Regions from separate parts of the Homo sapiens genome. Here region 1 is linked to region 2. Evidence: promoter capture Hi-C in human tissues and cell types (Jung and others, 2019). All regions are on one chromosome and are shown on one strand. Each heading gives the region's core, a stretch centred on a gene start or on the middle of the fragment in contact. The rest is flanking DNA. Distances are from core to core; before and after follow the strand shown.

Region 1 (4,512 bases), core at 791-3,290, 1.4 Mb before region 2:
GTAACCATGACAAGCAGTAAAAATCTCACACCAAGCAAGTACTCTGTGGGAAGAGGGGAGTTCTCCAGGCTATAAATAGCCCCTCTCTCCAAGGACAAGGGGCACGCAGACACCAAAGGCGCCTGGGCAGTGAATGCCAACATGACACGGCACCATTCTTCCTATTCCAAGGGGTCCCCAGTGAGAGAAACAACAGTCCACCCACCAGGACTTGGTGATTACCATAAGTGGAAGCAAGCAAGTGCAGCCTCCAAGTGCAGACACACCGAATGGCTTTTCAGCTGACACACCGAATGGCAGTTCCGGATTAATTCCCACACTGTCCACTCCACTCGTCCACACCCATCTCTGCACCCTTCAGCAGTGCAGAGCAGGAGGAATCACAGTCAAACAAAACCTCATGGTTGTTTTCCTGACACTCCCGCTTTCACAATGCAAGCAAACACACCCCCGAGCCACTGATACAGTTGCCAGTGAATCACACACTCTGCCTGCAGACGCCCATTCTGTTTGTGGAAACGTATTCACTGCACATTTGCGCTTAGAACTCAATCTGGGCCAAAAGTTCCCAGTACAGTCCCACTGGCCTCCTTGACTAACAAACTTCAAGGCAGCTGCATTGCTAACGTCACAAACCCTAAGCACACTTGGAGGCAGGTAAGAAGAAACACAAATAATCCTGCATCGGAATAAACATTCCATAAGGTCACAAAAAGAAAAGGTGCTCTACTATGCTAAACAGACACTGACAGAGCCTGGGCTAACAAGAGCTGAGAAAAGTATTAGCCCCTCAAGCTGGGCCCAGGTCAACCCTAATTGTAAGGGTCAGGAAACTGAAGTTAAGGTGGCACTATTCCCCACCACTAGTGGTCACCTGGAAACTCCACACACGGAAGCCAGCATGACATTGTGAAACAGGTCCAACCATGACACTCTCCAGCTTAGAACCTGCTGGATTTTCCCGCAGCCCACCAGGCCCTGGAGGCCCAGCCCCACAGGAAGCCACCCTCTATAAACACTGCCGGTTTCTGGAACTCTGAGTCTCCTGTCATGCACTTTCCTCCCCCAGCCCCCGCGCCCTCACTGCTTCTTTCTTGGTCAGCCTCCCGGGGACTCAGCTCCTCTTGGATAGGAGCTCTGGCTGTCGGTCACCACTGTGGCCGCAGGGCCTGGTGCAGACGGGATAAACGATGAAGAATGCCACCTGCGCGTCTGGACAGCGTAGAACCGCAATCAGCTTGCTTCAAAATCAGATGCTACAGCCTGGCTTTGGGGACGCCTTCCTTTCTAAGGCATAAGTGCGAGCGTTCGCTGCTGTGCGTGGAACTGCGGCCGGGAGGGAGTGGCGGCGTGAACGCCGGCGGCTGTAGAGACACACCGGCCGCGGCCCCATCACCCTGCAGGGGCCTGCGGCCGCCATCCCGGCCTGCCCCCGACCAGCTGTGCGACCTCGAACACGTCGTGAGCCGGCTTCCCGGCTCGGGATCGAACCCGAGGAGTGCTGTTTGGGGTCGCAGTGAGGCTAAGGGAGGCCGCAGGTGCCAAGCGTCCCGCCTGCCGGGCGAGGGCCAACCCGAGGCCACGCGCGAGGAGCGGCCGCAGCGACTGGACAAAACAAAGACAAAGACAAAGACGGCTCTTCCCCTGCCCGCGCCCCAGCCGCGACGGCAGCTCCCGCGGCCGCCAAACGGGCGTGACCCTCGAGGAGCCTCCGTCGGGGCGCTGCCTGCGACCGTGGGCCCAGGCCGCCCGCCGAGCCCAGCGCCCTGGCCGAAACCCCGACCCCGACCCCGACCTGGACCCACCAGCCGCCCCGCCCCCTTCGCGGCCCCGCCCGCCCCGGCGCCCTCACCAGCTCCGGGAGGCTCCTGCGCGGCGGCCACCGGGATGAGCAGCAGGAGCAGCGCGGCGCCACCGAGGCGCAACCTCCAGTACGGCGTCGGCCCGCGGGCCACTCCGGGCGCCATGGTCGGCCGGTCGCTCTATCAGTCAGTGGAGCGTTACAACTCCGACTCCAGCACAAGCGGTCTCCGCCCGGAACAGCCGCGGCGCCGGAAGTGGACCTGCGAGGTGGGGCCATGCGAGTGCGCAGCCTCAAAAAGCAGCTCGCCCCGCTCCCTCGCCATCTGCCCCGCCCCTCGCCAACGGGCTCGCCTCCCGGCGCGGCTGAGGTTCAGTGCGCCTGCGCGATAGAGGAAAGGAGCCTGGTAGCGAGGAGAGCGGCTGAGGCTCAGTGCGCCTGCGCGGCGCGGATGGGCGAGGCGTGACCGAGGGGCGAGGCGTGACCGAGGGGCGAGGCGTGACCGAGGGGCGAGGCGTGACCGAGGGGCGAGGCGTGACCGAGGGGCGAGGCGTGACCGAGGGGCTCGCCGCGGCTCCTGCGCCTGCGCGGCGGGGAACGGCGACCGGCTGAGGGGACTAGGGGAGCGCGGTGCTTCGGTGGCGGAGGTCACGGTGGCCTCCATCCTAAAGGGCTGCGGGCGTCCCGGACGGCGGTCCCAAGCGCTGCTCACGCTGCTCTTAAGTGAGCCCTGGACGAGGCGCGGTGGGCCCTCATAGTCCGCGCCGGCGCCCTCGCTCCACACCGCGGCGTCCGGCCCTGGGCTCCCGCCGATGTCCGCGTGGGACTTTTAGGGGATTTGTTTATTTTTGTACGTTAACCACACTAGAAACGGCCCCAGAATGGGCTGAAACGTGTGCTGCTGAAGCTGCCACCTAAACTCCCGAGAGAAGCGCCGTTTCTCCTCCATGGCTTCTCGCCGACGCCCTCGCTGCGGCCTTCCGGGCCCCTCGGTTGATAAAAGGACTAAATAGTGACGGACATTTTTAAGGCTACTTAAGAAATGGCAAAAATACATTTAGAGGTGTGAACCCGAACACACTGCGCGCTTTAAGCCCCGCGAGAGCCGGGGCCGCCCGCTTCTGTGCGCCCGTAGCTCCTTTCTCGGGTCCGGGATTCGCCGGTGCCGGGGACAGAAACCTCCTGCCTTCTTAGTTCATGACCCTTGTAGATGAACTTCCCTGTTTTCTGCACTGCTTAGACCAGAAGACGGGAAACCGTGACTGCCGCACCCTTCCCTGAAGCAGGCACTGCCCGTCGTCCATCAAACGCGAGGACTGCGCCCACCTCGTAGGAAGGACGCCGCGGTCCTGCTAAAAGCCTCCGCCTCTGCCTGCCCGAGGGCACCCTTCCCCTCCCCGCTTCCGAGGGCGGACTCCATTCCTCTGGAGCCGGTGTTTCCGGGTGGGCCAGCCTCCAACTGCCTTTGAATAACCCCCCCTTACATTAGATTCTGACCCTGTGGTGATTTTAGGTTGGGATTTGGGCGCCTGCAGATGGCTCCGAAGCCAGCCTCTTGTGATCCGAGCCACTTCTCTGGCACTCGGAGCGCTGGCACCCGCGGAGCGGCCTTGGTTCACCGGACCGCCTGGGAACCTGGCCGGGGTCTCTGGCAGCCTCCCAGGGCTGAGGTTCAGACTCTGTTCCGCCTACCCAGGTCCACACCTGATAGGGCTGGAGTTGAGGCTTGGTTTTAAGGCAAGAGTTTCGTTTGTTATTTCTCCAAAGAGTCAGCTGTTTGCAGGTGTGTGGTTAACACTATCCTTCGAGGTTAAGGTTTTGTTCGTCTTGCTAAAGTTTGCAACCTTTTTTGTCCTTCAGATTTGGAGAAGGGGAAAGCAGTTTCTCTTTGAAAAGAAGCAGCGAATCGTGGCTTAAGCAAAATTTGTAATCCTTAAAACTGGCCAGGCTCTGGAGCTGAGTTCAATTTGACATGTCTAAACTTTCTTCTTGAGTAACCAGATTTTCCCTTACAGTCTTTTGTCACTTAAGAGAACTCATAGGCAATCGTCCATCCAAAACAAGTCTTTCTCCTTCAGGGAGGACCCATCTTTGGAAACTCCAGCTGGTTTCCTGTGCAGTGCTTATGGTGCCACCTCTCGTTATATTTAGAAAAATGGTCTCACGTAACTTGAGAAAAAACATTTCAGTGACCAAAGCCGGGTACCATTGGAACACCAAGGTAATTTACTTGTTTGCTCAATTGGAAAACGCTGGCTCTAGGATAAAACGGAATCTTTGGGAGAGTTATTTTTTATGGTAGTTGGAAGCATCCAAAAGAAGTTCTAATAAAGGTATTTATGAGAGAAAAACAAAAATTATCTAAAATAATTTCTGAATTTAAAAAAGACTACTGAAATTTCTCCCCCTCCTCCCTCAGCTCCTTCTCTTTATCCTTTGTTGTCTGAATTACCTCGCCCAGACCCACCTTTCTTCCTCCTCCTCCTCCTGTTTTGGGGCCATTGCTCAAACAGCCAGTGTCTCTCATAGGGGACAACTATGTGCCCTAGTTCATGAGTTATGGTCAAAGGTAGAACTTAAAAGTATAATCAAGGAATTTCCTGATGCTCACCAGGACCCCACTGGTTTTCCCAGAGAATTTAAATACCCGAGTGTGTGACCCTGCCTCTACTTTGGGAAAAATAATTTTTTTTTTTTTGAGACGGAGTCTC
Region 2 (4,521 bases), core at 1,443-3,942:
GCCAAAATTGTGCCATTGCACTCCAGCCTGGGGAACAAGAGCGAACGCTGTCTCAAAAAAAAAAAAAAAATACAAAAAAACTCCAACTCACAGCCAGCCCACAGGAAGGGTCCCAGCCAGCTAAGCCCAGAGCCAAAGCAGCAAGAACAAACAACACAGTAATCCCCACTGACCAAGCACCACTGCATGCCTGACACTGTGCACATGACCAAACCTGATTCCAATCCTGTCACAGGTCAGGCTACAGAGGCAAAGTGGGGCTGACCCATCTCCTGACCAACTCTATGTCATTGCCTTACCACGAGCCCTGAGAACAGTCTAAACAGGCCCTGATGGGGCCAAGGGAAGAAGAGCACCTTGACTTCCCCTAAGGACAGGCCCTCAAATCCCAGGACAGAAAAACTCAATGCTGTACAGTCCAGGTGGCAGCAGGGCTAGAAGTCAAAGCAGAGATGGGGATCCCAGTGCTCCTCCTGCTAGTCTGGTTACCTGGAATAAATGTGCCTCAGCTTTCTAATGTATCTCATTAGGCTTATTCTAAGGACTAAAAGAAGAACAGGCCTTGAGCAGGGCTTGGCCTACAGTAAACACCATGGAACTGTTTTTAACGTTAAAGGCCAACTCTTCCCAAACTAACATATAAGCCTATTGCAACTTCATTTCAAGTCTGGGACAAAATCAGGATAAAGGCAATTTGGATGAGTAAATGAATAGACACAGGTAAGAGATGTTTTAAAAAGAAAGGCAACAAAGGTATATAAGGACTTTCTATCTATTACAAAGTCAGCGTAGTAAAAGAAAATGATGTATCAGTAAGAGTTATCACAGAAACAAAACCTATTTATGTAGGAATTCACGTCATTGAAACAATGTGATTACAAGTCACTAGGGAAAAAAGTCCTATTGCATAAATTCATAGGAGGGAATTTCCCATTTTACAAGGCTGAGGATTTCTGTAGAGAAACACTCCCAGGATGCAAAATAGTCTTGTGTAGCCAAATCAGTTCAATACCCAGGCAGTCCAACTGCTATGCTCCTCCTACTCACCAGCCTGAACCTGAAGCTCTCCTGCAATAGCCCCGAGGAAGTTCACAGCAGATATCAGCTCCCCACCCACCACTCTGCCCACCTACAGCCCCTTGGCATAGGCTGGGCCTTCCACCTGGAATGTCCATCCCATCCTGTACTGAGACTTCAAAGCCCACCTTCCTCCTCCCTCAAGGCAACACAGAGCCCTAGAGAACCACTTGCTTCTCTTATCAGAGAGCCTGTCACCCTACACTGGCAAGGCTAGCTGATCCCCTAGACCAATAGCAGGACGACTCTGACATAGGGCAGAGTTTGCCAGCCCTTTTCTTGTGAGCCCCTGGATTTTCACCTGCTTCATCAAAACCCTAGACCAGGCTGGGCCAGGATCCCAAGGGTGATCCAGGGTGGCCATACCATCAGGCTGGGGCAGCATACTCCTACCTGGCAGGAGGAAAAGTGGGCCACCATAATCACCCGTCCAGTGCCCATCCTCAGCCTGCAGCCCCACGTAAAATGTCATCCCGTTCAGAGCCCCCTCAAAGGCGGTGTGGGCTTTGGGCAAGTCCTTAAAGTAATTCTTCTGCAAAGAGATCGAAAAAAAAAAAAAGAGATAGCTGACGGGACTGTTGCCCGGCCAGAGGAACCCTCTTCACATACAGCCCAAGTCAAAACAGTGAATGTAAATTACTTTAAAAGTTTCAGCTGTTTCCATCAAAAGTCTGAAACTCTTTGATGAGAGCATCACACCTCAGCAAAGTAAAAGAACAGCTGCACATTTTCGTTGCTTTATTTGCCAGTCATGTATTCTTCACAACTTCTCCAAGATGTCTGGAATAAACCAGGCACCCAGACTGTAGGGTGGGGCACGGGTGCCGACCTGGGCCTGGGACTCGGGCCTCTCAAAGAGGGCCCAAGGGGCGGCACAGCCTTTCCCTCGGTGGCCGGGGCTCGGCAGGAGACCCTGTTTACACTGCAGACTCTGACGACCAAAATCTCTTACAATGCACACAACTAAGACAGTGGATCCAAACACTTTTTGTGAATAAAAACAAAGTTACAACTATCTTTGCAACTCTCCTATAAGTCAAAAATTATCTCAAAATAAGGTGCTAAAAAATAAAACATTAGGAGTCTCCTATGCGTGGTTTAGAGATGAAGGGGCTGAAGCGGAGGGGCCCGCGAACGCAGTTCCCGTGGGCGCTCGCCTTGGGGATGGGCGTCGCTGGCCGGGTCCTCCCACCCGCCTTTCTGAGAGAAAACGTGCTCCTCACGGCTCACCCCTCAGGGTCCCGAGCTCGCTGACGCTCCGCGGAAGCAACTTACGGTGTCCAGCCCCAGGGCGTAGGCTTCCAGGCCGGTCTGCTCGCGGCCGGCGCGCTCGTCCTGCAGGTAGGTCCACGTCTGCCGGCCCCTCTCGCAGTTGAGTCGCCAGCGGCCGAGGTCGGTGGCGGGCTCGGTCTTGTAGGGGCCCCCTCGGCGCCGCAGACACCTGAGGACCACCGGCCATCAGCGACCCAGGCCCCGCCCCAACGCCGGCCGCCGGCCCACTGCCCCAGTCGCGCTCTCCTCAGCACCTAGGACCACCCCGCATTCGTCAGGAGCCCGGGGCGAGGGGACTCACGTGCCCTCCGTCATTGCTGCTGCAGTGCTCTACGCCGCCCACTGCCAGCTGCCAGATGTCCGCACCCGGGACCTGCCGCCCAGCCCCGCCCCTCCCGCCCCTCCCGCCCCTCCCGCCCCTCCCGCGCGCACTACGCAGGCGCAGGCCTCGGCAGGCGCTCAGGCTTAGGTGGGCCGACGCCCACGCAACCAATCAGAGCGCCGCGAGCGTGACCCCGGGGTGTGCCAGGCGACCACAGTGGTGGAGCGCTTGGTGCCCCATGCGGCGTGGGGCGGGGCCTGAGGGAGCGGGGATGGTGGGTGAAGGCGACGGGACGGGGGAGGCGGGTGGGGCCTTATTGGCGGGGCATGAGGGGCGGGGCTGGTGGGTGGGGAGGTGGGGGCGGGGCTGGTGGGTGGGGAGGTGGGGGCGGGGCCTGGTGGGTGCGGGTGGGGGCGGGGCTGGTGGGTGGGGCCGAAGGGCGGGGGCGGGGCCTCTCGCGCGCCCTCTAGAGGCTTGCGTCCCGGGAGCCCGGCCTCGTGCGCCGCGCTTTGAGGTGAGCCTCTCTGAGAAATTTGTGAGGAGGGTCCAGCCGCGGGTCGGAAGGAAGGACGTGGGGAGCGAGGCTCGAGCGAGCGACAGCGAGTGCGAAGGTCGGGTGGCAGGGAATTGCTCTCGCGCTGCAGGATTTGCCCGGACGCCGGGGCCGGGGGTGGGGGCGGGAGGCCGCCCTGAGGTGAGGTGGGCGCGGGCCGTCGGCTCCAGTGCGAGACCAGGGGGAGGGCGGGGCGGAGCGGAGGAGCCGAGGGCGCCGCCGGCGTCCCTGGGAAGCTGAGCGCCGCGTAGCTTCGCCGGGGGGAGTGGGGTAGGCGCGGTGAGGCCGTGGGCCCCCACACCTGGCGGACCACAGGGGCCAGAAGCCCTGGAGCCCCGCCAGGGAAGGGCTGCGTCGCTGGCCAGGACCGAGCGCGGTAGAGCCTCAGCTGCTCACGGGGTCGCTGGAGTTGGGGGTGGCCCCAGGAGAAATTAAAGGTGAAAAGCCTTAGCAGCAGAGGGAAGAGGAAGATGGAGGCAGAGCGAGTGACCGAACTTGGAAGGGACAGCCGGGCGCAACAGGGCAGGGGGCGTCTGACTGTTGGAAACATGGCTGACGTCTGGAGGCTGCAGCCAGTGGTCCGTAAGTCAGGTCAAGGACCCACAGAAGACCCCAGCATGTCTTCACCTGGCCCACAGAAGCCCTGACATCCAGTTACAACTGCCCCAGCCTAGTGAGCATTTCGGCACCCACTCCTCAATTCCTACCCCCAGCCTAACTTCGAAGGGGCGGTGAGCCACAGCAAGCCGGAGGAGAAAGTTGGAAGAGAGAGTGGACAAAAGAATACCCACAGGCACCTTCCCCACAGTGGAATAGCGGGGTTTTAGACAATCAAGGATAATCACCTCTTCCTATCCCAGTTCAGAAACGGATGAAAAAGACACAGCAATAAGATGGGTGGGTATCAAAATATCAGCTTTGCCACAAATTAAAAACCTAGCTTGAAGGACAAGGCTTAAATCTGCAAGCAAGAGGGCAAGCTACTAAATCACCCGTTAAGTCAGACAAACATATCCCCCAGCCTCTAGGCCATGAAACTGCCTCACCAAGCACTATGCAATTGAGTGCCCACCAGAAGACACCCCTCCAGTCAACCCACAGACCCCAGAAAGAGTACCCAGAGGAGCCTGAGCACACTCCACCCTATCTGTTCTCTGAAATTCAATCAAATGAGTCACTCTACTTCTCTGGAAGCAGAAAGAGGCTGGAAGTTTTTCTCCAGGTAAGTTCCTCCATGTAGAAACATGAAGAATAGGGATAAGGGGCTTCAGCCTGGATGGAATCTCACACTGAACCT

Evidence for each region. Contacts are between HindIII fragments. The study calls those that stand out against the background at their distance.
Region 1: a contact is called between the fragment with the promoter of PTTG1IP here and the fragment with the promoter of LSS in region 2, in 1 of the 25 tissues and cell types used here (mesenchymal stem cells).

Annotation. Positions count from the first base shown.
Region 1 is chr21:44,871,650-44,876,161 of GRCh38, forward strand. PTTG1IP (PTTG1 interacting protein) reads right to left here and starts at 2,041. Exons shown (of 6, transcript NM_004339.4): 1 at 1,853-2,041. The coding sequence starts at 1,967. RefSeq lists enhancers at 1,162-1,662, 1,663-2,163, 2,321-2,998 and a silencer at 1,755-2,404. The HindIII fragment of the contact is 14,261 bases long and covers 1-4,512 here.
Region 2 is chr21:46,226,082-46,230,602 of GRCh38, forward strand. It overlaps LSS (lanosterol synthase), which reads right to left and starts at 2,693. Exons shown (of 22, transcript NM_002340.6): 1 at 2,651-2,693; 2 at 2,353-2,518; 3 at 1,471-1,609. The coding sequence starts at 2,664. It overlaps MCM3AP-AS1 (MCM3AP antisense RNA 1), which reads left to right and starts at 3,150. Exons shown (of 4, transcript NR_110565.1): 1 at 3,150-3,185; 2 at 4,246-4,446. RefSeq lists enhancers at 1,948-2,017, 2,734-3,028 and silencers at 2,448-2,497, 2,558-2,727, 2,738-2,997, 3,058-3,497. The HindIII fragment of the contact is 14,795 bases long and covers 1-4,521 here.